Linked DNA regions of Homo sapiens: region 2 is linked to region 1. Evidence: promoter capture Hi-C in 16 types of primary human blood cells and fetal thymus (Javierre and others, 2016). All regions are on one chromosome and are shown on one strand. The core of a region is centred on a gene start or on the middle of the fragment in contact, and the rest is flanking DNA. Distances in the headings are between cores, read along the strand shown.

Evidence for each region. The method cuts DNA at HindIII sites, captures the fragments that hold promoters and counts their contacts. A CHiCAGO score of 5 or more calls a contact.
Region 2: the fragment with the promoter of RNF40 here is called in contact with the fragment with the promoter of ATP2A1-AS1 in region 1 in 1 of 17 cell types (total CD8 T cells); the score reaches 8.2 in total CD8 T cells.

The regions. Positions count from the first base shown.
Region 1 is chr16:28,878,393-28,884,565 of GRCh38, reverse strand. It overlaps ATP2A1-AS1 (ATP2A1 antisense RNA 1), which reads left to right and starts at 4,645. Exons shown (of 2, transcript NR_046290.1): 1 at 4,645-5,024; 2 at 5,462-5,609. It overlaps ATP2A1 (ATPase sarcoplasmic/endoplasmic reticulum Ca2+ transporting 1), which reads right to left and starts at 6,078. Exons shown (of 23, transcript NM_004320.6): 1 at 5,777-6,078; 2 at 5,450-5,467; 3 at 4,983-5,065; 4 at 3,547-3,651; 5 at 1,977-2,115. The coding sequence starts at 5,894. RefSeq lists enhancers at 586-1,395, 4,919-5,692 and silencers at 4,429-4,778, 4,799-4,848. The HindIII fragment of the contact is 3,157 bases long and covers 1,626-4,782 here.
Region 2 is chr16:30,760,620-30,766,982 of GRCh38, reverse strand. It overlaps RNF40 (ring finger protein 40), which reads right to left and starts at 4,661. Exons shown (of 20, transcript NM_014771.4): 1 at 4,623-4,661; 2 at 4,306-4,508; 3 at 3,698-3,865; 4 at 3,424-3,565; 5 at 2,598-2,804; 6 at 1,924-2,045; 7 at 1,656-1,802; 8 at 1,484-1,558; 9 at 701-820; 10 at 425-604; 11 at 107-242. The coding sequence starts at 4,437. It overlaps PHKG2 (phosphorylase kinase catalytic subunit gamma 2), which reads right to left. Exons shown (of 10, transcript NM_000294.3): 10 at 5,807-6,363. It overlaps CFAP119 (cilia and flagella associated protein 119), which reads left to right and starts at 4,921. Exons shown (of 9, transcript NM_001014979.3): 1 at 4,921-5,438; 2 at 5,754-5,785; 3 at 6,315-6,363. The coding sequence starts at 5,235. RefSeq lists enhancers at 4,343-4,452, 4,573-4,832, 4,320-4,957, 4,913-5,092, 5,683-5,832 and 3 more and a silencer at 5,369-5,598. The HindIII fragment of the contact is 4,015 bases long and covers 3,024-6,363 here.

The DNA.
Region 1 (6,173 bases), core at 3,396-5,895:
GAGTAGGGAAGAGGGAGGTCACTTGGGAATGGAATTTTCTTCCTTCCAAAGAAAAACCCAATCTGTGTCTGACTCGTTCTCCTCATCCATCCTTCAGGTCTCAGGGAGGCTCCCAGGGCTTGCATCAGGCCCTTGGCTTGAGCTCCTGAAGCTGGCAACCCCTCATCGTGACACCCATCCCTTCTGCCCCCGTGTCCACGGCGAGATGGAGTCTCGCTCTGTTGCTCAGGCTGGTCTTGAACTCCCACATCTCTTCCCACTGGCTGTGAGCCCTGAGAAGGGATGGGCAGGTGTACTGCTCAGCACATAGTACATGCTCAATAAATGCCCACTGAATGACTGGAGGGGAAATTAGGGACAGTCCAGCTGTAGGACAAGAAGCTATAATTGAGATTGGGAGACAGGAGTGAGAAAGGCAAGGAGGAAAGGCAAGGAAAGAACTCAGGGAAAACAGGGTGCATTAGAGAGAAGGGGTGTCGGGGTGAGAGAATGAAGTGGACAGCCAGGGAAGGCAAGGAGAAACGGGAAAATATGGAAATTGAGAAAATCGAGGGCAACCAAGAGGAACAGTGGAGGGCAAGGCAGGAGAGGAGTGAGCGGAAGGTATGAGTGGGCAGGACTCAAGGCAGCGGGGGGCACAGGGTGGTCATGGAGAGGACCACATATCGGGAACCTGACAGCCCGGTCTGAGCATCTCAGGGAGGCAGGGAGGCGGGGAGCCAGGGAGAGTGAGCTGGGGACATGGACAAGACAGGATGGGATGGGACAGGAGAGAAGCGGGGGTTGGGCAGGAAACAGGTGTGGAAGAGTGGGGCGGGCAGCACAGGCTGGAGAGTGAATGGGTGGAGGTGAGGCCAGGGAGACGCACAGGTGGGCTGGCAGGCCATGGAAACCACCTTGTCGGGGGGCTGGAGAGGTGGATGCCCAGCCAGACTCAGAGACCTTAGGAGGAGGCTAAGAATCTCCCAGGGCCGCTGCCTAATTCCGCACTGGTCCCACGGATGGTACTGGGGACAGGGTCCAATCGCTTTCCTTTCCCTCTGTTTCTAAGGATCCCTCCTGTGCCAGAGGAAATGGACCGAGGAGGGAGGAGGGAGGTCGGGATAGAGTCGGGCGGGACACCCTGTCACCCAAGCCCGCGTGATATTTATAGACATTCATGGCGCTGACTCCATGCTGTCACGGCGGCAAGGCTGCCCTGTGATGGGGCGCTGGGGTCTTCAGCCTGCCCTCACTCCCTCTGCCCAAGCTCCCTGGGGTGGTGATTCGGATGTCTGCTACAGGGAAGGAGGCCTCTGAAGAGCCATTCCCCCTGGCAGGGGCCTGGAGCTTCGGGAAGGCCTGCTCAGGGCAAACATAAAAACCGCTGAAGGGGGCAGAATCCCAGTAATCTTAGCCACCCGGCCCCCACCCCTCCCTGGCCAGGCATTAAGTGTCCCTTGCCGCGGGCGGGGCCCTCCTTGAGCTCCCTCCTCCCCGGTCGCGTGCTCTGTGCCAGGCCTGAGTTTCCCTTACATGGTCGGGGGCTCGAGCCTTCGGCCTCCCTCCTCCCTTCTGCCCTCGCTCCTTCCCCTTTGAGAGGCCTCAAGGGCACAGAGAGGTCAAGACTGAAAGCTGACCAAGCTTGGGGTGGGTGGAAGGAGGGGGAAGCCAGGCCCGGGAGGGGGTGGAGACGGGGCCATTGGCAGGGACCGGGTTCCACCTGTTGCCTGCGAGTGCAAGTGCAGGGTGAGAGGATGGGGAGCAGGGGGTCTGCCTGCAGCCTCAGGGACAGGACTGGCTGTTCCTGCTGAGACTCCGCTGGGGAGGGGGGGATGTGGCCGGAGTGGCCTGGGATGACCTTCTGAGGAGTCGGAAAGAGAAGCAGACTCCGTCATCCTCCTGGACACCTGGATCCGAGCCTGACCAGCCCCCGGCATCTCCTAGGCCTCAGCCCCAAGGCCTCCCATCCTGGACCAGCCGTCCCTGTCACTCACCAGCCACCTCCACGATGTCCCCAGGGACGATGTCCCGAGCCTTGATCCTTTGCACTGACTTGCGGTCAGCCCGGTAGACCTTCCCCATCTCTGGCTCATACTCCTTCAGGGCCTCGATGGCGTTCTCTGCGTTCCGCTCCTGAGGAGACAGGGTGGAGGAGGCAGGGTTATACACAGGAGGCAGAGTTATGGAGTTGTGGCTCCTGGCACGGGGGAGGCAACAAAACCCCACACAGGCAGGGGTGTGTGTATGTTGAGGAAACTGTCACCTACAGGTGAAAACAGGTGAGAGGGTTTTGGGGAGGGAACAAAGAAGAATCAAAGAAAATCAGGCCGGGCATGGTGACTCACGCCTGTAATCCCAGCACTCTGGGAGGCTGAGGCAGGCGGATCACTTGAAGTCAGGAGTTCGAGACCAGCCTGGACAACATGGTGAAACCCCGTCCGTCTCTACGAAAAGTACAAAAAAAAAAAAAAAAAAAAAAAAAAGCCGGGCGTAGTAGCACGCGCCTGTAATCCCAGCTACTTGGGAGGCTGAGGCACGAGAATCACCAGAACCTGGAGGCAGAGATTGCAGTGAGATGAGATTACGCCACTGCACTCCAGCCTGGGCAAGAGAACGAGACCCTGTCTCAAAAAGAAAAATCTAAATAAAAAATCAAAGAAAATCAGAGGCTGCCCTGCAGATGCTGTCCTGGACCTGTCAGCACCACAGACACAGGTGGCTCTGCTGCGCCTGTAACACTGGGGCAAAGAGAAAGTGCTATTTCTCTCTTTTTTTTTTTTTTGAGACTGGGTCTCACTCTGTTGCCCATGCTGGAGTGCAATTGTGCAATCTTGGCTCACTGCAACCTCCGCCTCCCCATTCAAGTGATTCTCCTGCCTCAGCCTCCTGAGTAGCTGGGATTACAGGCACCTGCCACCATGCCCAGCTAATTTTTTTGTATTTTTAGTAGAGATGGGGTTTTACCATGTTGGCCAGGCTACTCTTGAACTCCTGACCTCAACTGATCCACCCGCCTCGGCCTCCCAAAGTATGAAAGTGGCTATTTCTATCCTCAGTGTTCAGAAACCAGTGAGCACCAAAAAATGGCTTATAGCCTGACATTTCTTAAAACCAAAGCAAGGTAGCATTTGGGTTTTCACTTTGGAAATGACCTAAAAACAAAACAAAACAAAACAAACCAGGAAGCAGAGGACAGGACATGTAGGGGGTGGTCAGGTCAGTGGAAGAAGGAAATCAAGCTAGCGTCTATTGAATTCCTACTGTGTGCCAGGAACATGCATCATCTTAGTCGATTTCACACTGGATTGCTAGCCCCATTTTATGGATGAAGAAACTGAGGCTCAGAGGGATGAAGGAACTTGCTCAGGGTCACATAGCCAGGAAGTGACAGTGGGTCACAGTCTCCCACCTCTTCCCCACACTCCATCCCATTCCAGACCAGGGGATAGGACCAGAGGAAGAGGCAAGTATGGGGGAGGTGATGGAGGAGGAGGAGACTGGAGGGAGGGTTGGCCTCTTCTTCACTGTTGGGACATGAAGGGGTAAGGAAGGGTCAACGCTAACCTGCCAAACCCCCACGATGGCATTGGCAATGAGGATCAAGAGGATGACAAAGGGTTCAACAAAGGCAGTGATGGTCTCTTCACCTTCCTCAAACCAGGCCAGCACCTGGGGAGCAGGGGAAAGGAGAATGACAGGTAATGAGGCCCCAAAACAGATGGAGAAAGGAAGTGGACCACTGCAAAGGGGAGAACTGTGCAGGAGAGTGCAGGAGCCAGCAGGAGGGCCGGGCACCGTCGGGGCGCTGTGGCCCCACATCCGTCTGAGGGTCTGTCCATCCACTGCAGGTCCTGCCACCGCCTTACTCAGCGGGATGGGCGCGCACAGACTTGCACCACTTGGGGGATTAGCTGGGAATGCTTTCAGGTTTCCCTGACCAAGCTGCTGGCTTAGAAGCGAAGCTCAGGCCAACCCCCCGCACAGCCACATCCATCCCACGGGAGCCAAAACCCGAGAGGAAAAACCCTGTGGTCTTCGCAGGCGGTCTGGCCCCCGCAGCCCTCCCCCTCGGCCAAGGCAGGGAAGCTCCGGTTTCACGAGGGAGCCGGAGCGGGGATAGGGTTACGGGGCCTCCTGCGCGCGCCCCGCCCCAGCTGTTGCCACCGCCAGGCAGCAGGCAAATGTCAAGGAGCAAATCTGAGAAGGGAGAGGAGAGGCCCTGCCAGCTTGTGCTTAACGCGACGGGGCCTGCGTTCGGAGACCAAGGCACAGGGAGGCTTTCGTTGCCTCCAGAGTCCCCAGCGAGGCTCACATGCTGCGGAAGAACCCGCGACATGCAGATGGACCGCGGGATGGGGAGTAGCCCCCAGGGCGGGAGAGGAGGCAGAGCCCTGGAGATGCCCTGCGGGGGTGGGGGTGCCTAGGGAGCGCGGGGAAGGGCTAAGGCCAGGCTGGGCGGGTAATGAGGGATGCCAGTGCCCTCCCTGACCGGGCGCCGGGCTCCTTGGAGTCATCATCACACCGCCGCGCTTTCCCGCCACTAGGAGCGAGTCCTCCCCTCGACCAATCAGCGTCAGGAGGCTGGGGAGGGCGGGGCAGGGGCGCCGACGGGCGCGGGGATTGGTGGAGCGGCCGTCCGCCCGGCGCATGCCGGGAGTGGCAGTGGCCCCCCGCGCCGCAGCCGGCATCGCGGCGGGACCCGGAGCCCGGAGTTCGGGTGGGTAACCCGAGCTCTCCAAGCTCTTGAAGCCGCGAGGGTGGCTTAGCTTCGGTGTTTTGGCTGAGAACACCCTTAAAGCTTAAAATAAAACCTGCCTCTGGGGTGCAGGGGAGGAGAGAGGAGGACGCGAATCACACCCGCTGCTGCGCGCCAGCCCGCCCCGTCTGTACAATGGGATGCTCGGGACTCGGACGGGAGGATCCAGTGACTGCGAGCCCCGCATTCGCCCGATCCCAGCCTCACACCCCCAGCCAGCCCCCAGAGACCCTCCCACACTTACGAAGGAAATGCATGCGGCCAGGAGGAGAATCCGCACCAGGAGGTCTTCAAACTGCTCTATCACCAGCTCCCACAGGGTCTTCCCTGGGGGAGGAGGCAAGGGGAGGGCCCCGGGTTAAGGTCTAGTGGGTGAAGGTCTGGGATGGAGCGCCCTGGACTCCGGCCTGCAGTGGGGAGGCTCTAGGGTGGTGGGCAGACAGCTTGGTGCCCAGAGAAGGGCTAAGAAGCTCGCCTGGAGTCCAGAAACAGACTCGGCAAAGTGGGGGGCAGTTCAAGGGTTGGCTGCTTCAAGGAGAAAGCGCCTGGGAGACTTCTGCCCCGGACAGGACTCTAACCTTTAGGGAGGGAGATTTGCCTTTTGGGAAGGGATATTTGCTCAAAGAATCTAAAGAGGCAGGGAGGAGGGAGTGGGACAGGGCGGGGTGGGGGGTGGTCATTTATGAGAGTTCAGGGATTCCAGTAACTTACCTTCCTCAGCAGGGAGCTCTACCCAGGAAAAAGAAGAAAAGGACAGATTCATTTGGGGTTCAGCCTCATGCCCCCCACACCCAAGACTTTGTGGCTAAGAGAATCAGGCCACCTTGAGGTTCATCAAGTTCATCCCATTAAAACCTCCCAAAACTCTGGATCTCGGGACTCTGTTTTCTCAGTATCTTCTTCCCCCTGCGAGCATTGGACAACGGCCCAGCTCTTCCTTAAGAAACCCTGAAGGGAGAAACGCGTGCATGCGTGTGCGTGTGTTTTGGGGGTGCAGGAGGGCATTAATTACCAGCCGCTCTTCCAAGGGACACTTACCATTGAGGCCGTATTTCTCCAGATTCCGCTTAACTTGGTCCGGGGTGAGGCCCGTGGTCTCACTCACCCCAAAATAGGCCAAACATTCCTCCGTGGTTTTAGCATGAGCGGCCTCCATTGTGCTCCCTTCCTGGGGGCCGGGGCCGGTGTGTTCCTTCCAGGGGGTTCCCACTCGTGGGGGGTCTTCCTCAGTGTGTCCAACTGCCTGTCTGCCTGGGTTTCTTCTTTTTACTCTCCTGCCCCCTCCAGGTTTTTCTTCCCTCCACAAAGCTCTGACCCCCGTCCCACTTGAGCAGCCGGCCACCCCCCGGCCCCCAGCTGGTCCTTATGAGGGAGCAGGGGGAGGCCGGGCTCCCCCCTCCACCAGATCAGGGATTGGCTGGCTGAGACTCCAGCA
Region 2 (6,363 bases), core at 3,412-5,911, 1.9 Mb before region 1:
TGAAAAAAAAGGCCTTAGCCTCTTGCATCTGGATAAGCAGCAGCCCCACACCAGGGCCCAGCACTCCCAGATAAGGCCCCACCTCCGCCCTATCCTCACCACATACCCGCCTGCTCGTTGGCCGCCAGATTCTGCTCAAACTCGATGCGCAGCATCTCATACTCCTTGCGTACCTGGGCCAGCGTGTCCTCCAGCTGAATGACCTCTGTGCGTAGCTTCTTCTGCAGCCCCAGCTCGTCGCTCTGTGGGTTGATGTGTTAAGGACCCACACAGCCCCTCGGTCCCACCTCAGGACTCAGTATCTTAGGAAGAATCTATTCCCCAGGGACCCCTGGCTGGCACACAGGGCCTCGGAAGGCACAAACACGTCAACACTAACGGTTTGGCCCTTAGCCCAGCCCTAACGCCTGTTCCAGGGCCATACCTCCATGTGCTCGATGTGTCGCAGGTGGGAGTTCTTTGTGGCCAGCAGCAGGCCCCGAGCCTCGTCTAGCTGGGTCTTCACTTGCAGAGACTCGTTGTAGAGCAGTGAGAATTGGGCCTGCAGCATGCGGTACTCCCCCGTCTCCCGCACTACCTCCTCAGGAAGGCTCCGCAGGGCCACCTGGGGCAGGGATGCCCAAATGGGATCAGCAACAGGATTCAGGGCTCAGTCCCTCCCTTACAGGCCCAGGACCTCTCAGCCCCTACAGCAGCCCACCTTGAGGCGCTCATTGGTCCGCACAGCCCCCTGAAGTTCGGCCTGCAGTTTCTCCAGCTCTGCCATACGGCTGTTGGCCAGTTCCTGGTTTTCCTCTAACTCTGCATTCAGCATCTCAAACTAAGGAGTGGGAGGCAGGGCCATGGGAGGCAGGGCCAGACGTGGCAGCAGGCCTCCCTTACATCCCCAGCATACACTCCACCCCAAGCACCCCGTGCAGGGCAATGATCGATTCTGACACCCCAAACCAAGTACTTTCCTAAGGGCTCCCAGAAAAATGGGAGAAAATTCAATACTGCATGGTCGGTGCTGGGAACTAAGGCTCTTAACTGATGGGGAGTCACGGAAGGCATTCCAGAAAGGCCTAAAGTGCTAATAAAGGGAAAAAGGGCACAGTGACCACCAGATGCCAACTGACTCCAACTCACTCTTAGCTCTCTCTTCTGTGCTTTATCTTTGTGGTACTCATAACACACTGATATGCTATTTTACTGATTTCTTGTCTGTTACCACAAGTAGAACCTAAAGATATATTCTTTTATTTATTTCTTGTCTGGTCCATGAAAGTTTTGACCTCTATTTTGTTCTCGCCAATATGCCTAGTGCCTAGCACTAAGTGTTCAAAAATCTACTCAACAAGTATATGAATGCATGAAAAAAAGAGCAGCAGGAGTGACCAGGAAGGGCCTCAGAGATGGATGTTTGTCCTTTGTCCTGAGGGGAATTTCAAGAGTGCAACAGAGAAGAGGTTGTGAGAAGGGGTGGGAGGAAAACGCCGCTCACCTTCTGCATGCTGAGTGTGATCTGGCCCCCCTGGAAGCCTGAGGAGCTCCCAGATACATAGTAGCCAGAGTTAAGCTGTGGAGAGAAAACAGACAGGCAATGGATGTAGAGGGGAGGAGCTAAGGCCCAAGGGCCCAGCCTTGCCTCACCTGCCCCAGCACCCCTGCCCCACCTGCTCTAAGGCCTCTGCCAGGTGCTTATTGAGCTTTTGCTCTCGCTTCCGCAGCTTCTCGATGTCCCACTGCAAGTCCTCCACTGTTGTCTCCATCTCCAGCACCTTGGTCTCTGCCGATGTCACTTTATCCTGGAGCTCGGAGTACTGGGAACAATGAGGGAGCAGATGCTTGGATGGGGGACTTGGTTCCTGAGGTCCCTGAGTGCCCATCTAACCCAAATCCTGCCTGATTCTAATCACACCCCCAAAGCCCCCGGCTCCTCACCTCCAATGAGATGCGGTGGTGTTTCTCCTGCAGCTGAGTGGCCAAGTCCTGCAGTCGCCGGTTCTCACGGCCCAGCTCTCGGGTGTGTGCCTGAGCCGCCTCACTGAGGGGCTCACTGTCCCCTGGGAAGGCAGGGCCCAGGTAAGAGCCCAGCTCAGGGCAATGGGGCAAACAACTAACTCATTCTGGAGTCTGCTATATACCCAGTGTGATCCACCAGCTGTCTTGCCCATTTCTCATGACAAAGCCAGGAGTCTTTATCCCCACTGCACAGAGAAGGAAACCAGCTCAGAGAGGGGAGCCACTTTCCCAGCATGTCCAGGTGAGGGTGGCAGAACTAAGGTGGGAGAAGCCTGTCAACCTACAAGGCCTGAGCCCTTGAAGCTATGCCTTGTGGATCCGCAACCCACACCAAGTGCTCCAGAGGGGCCTCTGGCCAGGAGCCTCTACCGGCATCAACAACTCCTCCAACCCATCTCTCTAGCATTCAATCCCGGAATCAAAGTTGGAACCCCCATCTACAGCCTAACCTACCTCTTCCAAGAACATGGCTGATTTATTCCTTGGGAAATTCTGGCCGCCCTTGGACTCGGGCATTAGGGGAATCAGGAAGGGGTGCCATCAAGATGCAGGTGGGGATGGACACCCCTTCAGTATGGGCACAAAGAACCCACCTCGGCTGTACACTCGCTGACAGAGTTCCTCCACCCGGCGCTGTAGGCGGTCTGAGGCCTCTACCACACGAGACACAGCTGCCTTGGAGAACTCCATTCGGCCTTGCAGCTCCAGCTCCACCTCCTCACTGCTGCTGGCACCCAGTGCCACCACAAAAGCCAAGGCCGGCTCACTGAGAGGGGGCCGCAGCTGCATCAGCAAGGGGTCTGGAAGGAATGGACAGACCCTCATGAGGATAAGAGCAGCAGTTACTACCACTCTGTACCAAGTTCCAGACTGAGCCCTTCAATACTCATGGTTCACTTAATCAACACAACCTATAGTGCACTATTATCTCCATCCTGAAAGTGAGACAAATGAAATTCAGGGAGGTAAAGTAATTTCCTCAAAGCTACAGAGTTGCGTATCACATCCTCAGGGAAGCTTCCTGTACTTTACCAATATAATTAGAATCACACGCACATGCATGCACACACAATCATTCCGTTTCAGGAGCCCCAGTACTTTCTGCTTACTATGTTTATAATTTCCTCCCTTATAGCAAGTGCAACACTCATTTCTAGGAAGCGTCAAATACATATTTAATACTCAACCATAATACTGTTTTGAAACAAATGGGTGTCAAAACATGAATTGCTCTATAAACCAAGTTAGTCAGAGTCTAAAGCCTGTGTTTTTGTGCACTGCACTTTACTGCCCAAACATGAAATCCATTTCGTGAGAAGTAGTAAGATAGGCAATTCAGGGGCCCAACACCAAAGTCCCCTCCTCCCCAGGACTTCTCCCAGAACTTAAGCTCCCCAGATCCCAGCACTCTGGTCCTACCTCTCAGCTCTGATGTCCCCGGCTCTGGGAGAGGAGTCCCATCACATGTTGGCCCCTCCTGGGTCCCAGGTGCCTCAGGCGCTGAAGACAGCTCCCCCTGGCTCTCATGGCATCGGAGAAGGGCTTCCACAGTTTCATCCAGCTGGAAGGAGAAAACATCAAAAATGTTATGAATCCCTTAGTGCTTTCCAACATGATACTCCTTTCCTAGCAGGGGAATCTGGGGATTGGCAGCTGAATCAAGGCCTGGTCTTTGAAAGCAGAAGGTATCCACCTGGGCCCAGTAGCGATTGACGATGAGGAGTGTGGCATCATCTGTGGCCTGCCGCTTCTCCAACTTCTCAATTCGTTCTCGGAGTTCATCTTCACAAGCCTGCCGTTGTTCCAGCCGCTCTGCCAGTTTCTTGTTCTTGAACTGTAGTACCTTCAGGTCCATCTCCTCCTACCAAAGGAAACAAAGGGGCCGACGAGAGCGTCAAGCAGGGCCCACAAACCAATCACAGAGAGAGAAAGAGGAGCAGAGCATCTGCAATGCATGGGAGATGGAGGTATTCCCACACTAACCGCTAACAGAATCTAAGGAGGCTCAGACAACACACAGCGAAAGTGTCTTTGTTGTGAGGAGGCTCACGTTGTTTCTGCCTGTCCCCTTGTAAATCCTTAGTCTTTGACAAGTCACACGCCCCCTGGAAACCTGTTTTCCTATCTGTAAAGGGAAGACAGGCGTCGTGTTCTGAGCTTCTTTCTAACCTTTCTTTCAAGGTCCTGTAACGCGGACCTTGCTAAACTTGGGGAAGTGGGTGTAAGATTCCGCACAGTTTGGCCAGAGAACAGAGGGAGGGCTCTGGGAAGTTCTGAGGGTTAAGGCAAGAGCCCACGAACCGTGGAAGAGATGCCTCCAAGACGAATGGGCTCGATAAGAGTCGTGGTGGTCTTCTCCTCACGACTCAGCTTCTTTTCCGGGGGCCCTGAGCCCCCGTCGCCGGCGGCGCGTTTGTTGCCTGGCCCAGACATGGCCGCGGCGGCTGGAGCGATGCAGGGTCCCCTGAGGGGCGTCAAACGGGAGGAGGCGGTACTTCCGTCACCTGCAGAAGACACAGAGCAGAGATGTGGGAACGGCTGGTGTTCCACAGCCCCAAACACCCTCCACCCTGCACACACCTGCTGGATCCCGTCCCCCCCGGCGCCAGAGCCCTCACCAGCAGGAGGGTCAGCCTAGCGCCGCCATCTTGGATTTCACCGGACGTCACTGGGCGTCACTGGACGCCACTGCCCCCCCCCCAACGGTGCGCAGGGCGCAGGCGCCAAAGGCAGCCCCGGATGTGAGGAAACTTCTTTATCTTCTGCTTCTATTGGTTACGCTTGGTCCCGCCACTCGGGTCCTCTGGCTTCTTCCCAAACACCTCCTCTTTCTCTCGGTGATTGGCCAAGAGGCAGTTCCCATAGTAACTGACACCGCGCTCCCACTTCCCAGCCTGGAGGACAGCACCGGCCCTCGTATTAGCAACCTGGAAGAGAGGGCGCCCAGGTGGGCACTCGCAACTTCTCACGTATCTGCGCGTTCTCTTCGCTCCCACTGGCGTGAGCCTGCGCTTTCCGCCTTCCTTCCCTCACAAGCCCCCTTGGCAACCGTCGCCGTTGAGACGGAGGGAGACGCCCCCACGGATTCGCCCCGCCGCGCCTCTCCGCGCGTAGATTGGCCGGAGCGAGGCGAACGGGCCCGGCCTTGGTAGCCGCCGACCGAGCGCTGGCTGTCCTGGAACCTAGGCGGCGGGAGCCCGGGGCGCCTCGCGGCACGGAAGAGCGGCGAGATGCTCAACCGCAAGACCAGCCACTTTTTGGGAATGAGGGTGCAGTCGGAGCTTGAACATCTCTCCGAGCTGCGGCGGGAAGCGGGGAAGGATCGCAGCTCAGTGCATGGGTCGGCCGCGCGGACGCGTGCGAGTGTGCGGACTCAGTGGACGACGGCGGCGGCGGCGAAAGCGGATGAAGACCCCGGAGCCAACTTGTTTCCGGTGAGGGCGGGACAGTCTGGTCTGCTCGTGAATATTTATAAACCGGCTCCCCCGCAGGCGCCACCTGTCATTATGCTTACTAACGTTCGGGACGTCTCCCGGGCTGCTTGGGCGAGGAGAGGCAGGGGTGTGTGACCCCGGTGGTTACTGTGCTCGCGTAGAGCACCTAGGGCCTGCTGAAGCCCTCCCTCGCCCGCGCCTCTCCTTAGTCCTTGAGATGAGATGGCAAGTTACAGCGGCTTCTCCGGCCTGCTGGAGATTCGCTACGGGCCAGGACACCGCAGCTGCCTTCCCCAATTCGCTTTCTTTCCGCAGCCGCCGCTGCCCCGACCCCGGATCTGCATGTGGTGAGTGTGAAGAGACAAAAATTACACTGAATATTTGCGTTCTTTATTGTCTCCCCAACAGTCCTGTCTGTGGCCAGGGCATCCCCATTTTACAGATGAGACTGAGGCCTGGAGATGCAATTACTCCAGGTGACTGGAAGTTGGCTTTCCAGCCTCTCCAGTCCAAAGAGGAGGCAGTGTGAGAAAAAAAGAGCCAAAGACAGAATGTAAATGGAGTCTCATGGCCGCTAAGGAGTATTGTACAGAGGGGGACACTGAGGGCCACAGGGAGTACTTGACCAAGGTCATACAAGGTAGTGGCAGAGCAGAAAAAAGAATTCAAGATTCCTAACCCTAGGCTTTAGAAATGGAGAGGCTCATAAGAGTTCATTTAGGCCCAGAGAGTTAACGATTTGCATAGTCACACAGCAAGCTGGCAAAAGAGCCCAGCTTCACGCCGGTGGCCAACTCCCAGTCTCACGCACTAGCTGTCACAGCCTTGTCATGATAGGTAACGGCCACCAATACTCTTTTTCTTTTACTATAACAGGAAGTACCTGGACGTCCATTCCATGCACCAGCTGGAGAAGACCACCAAT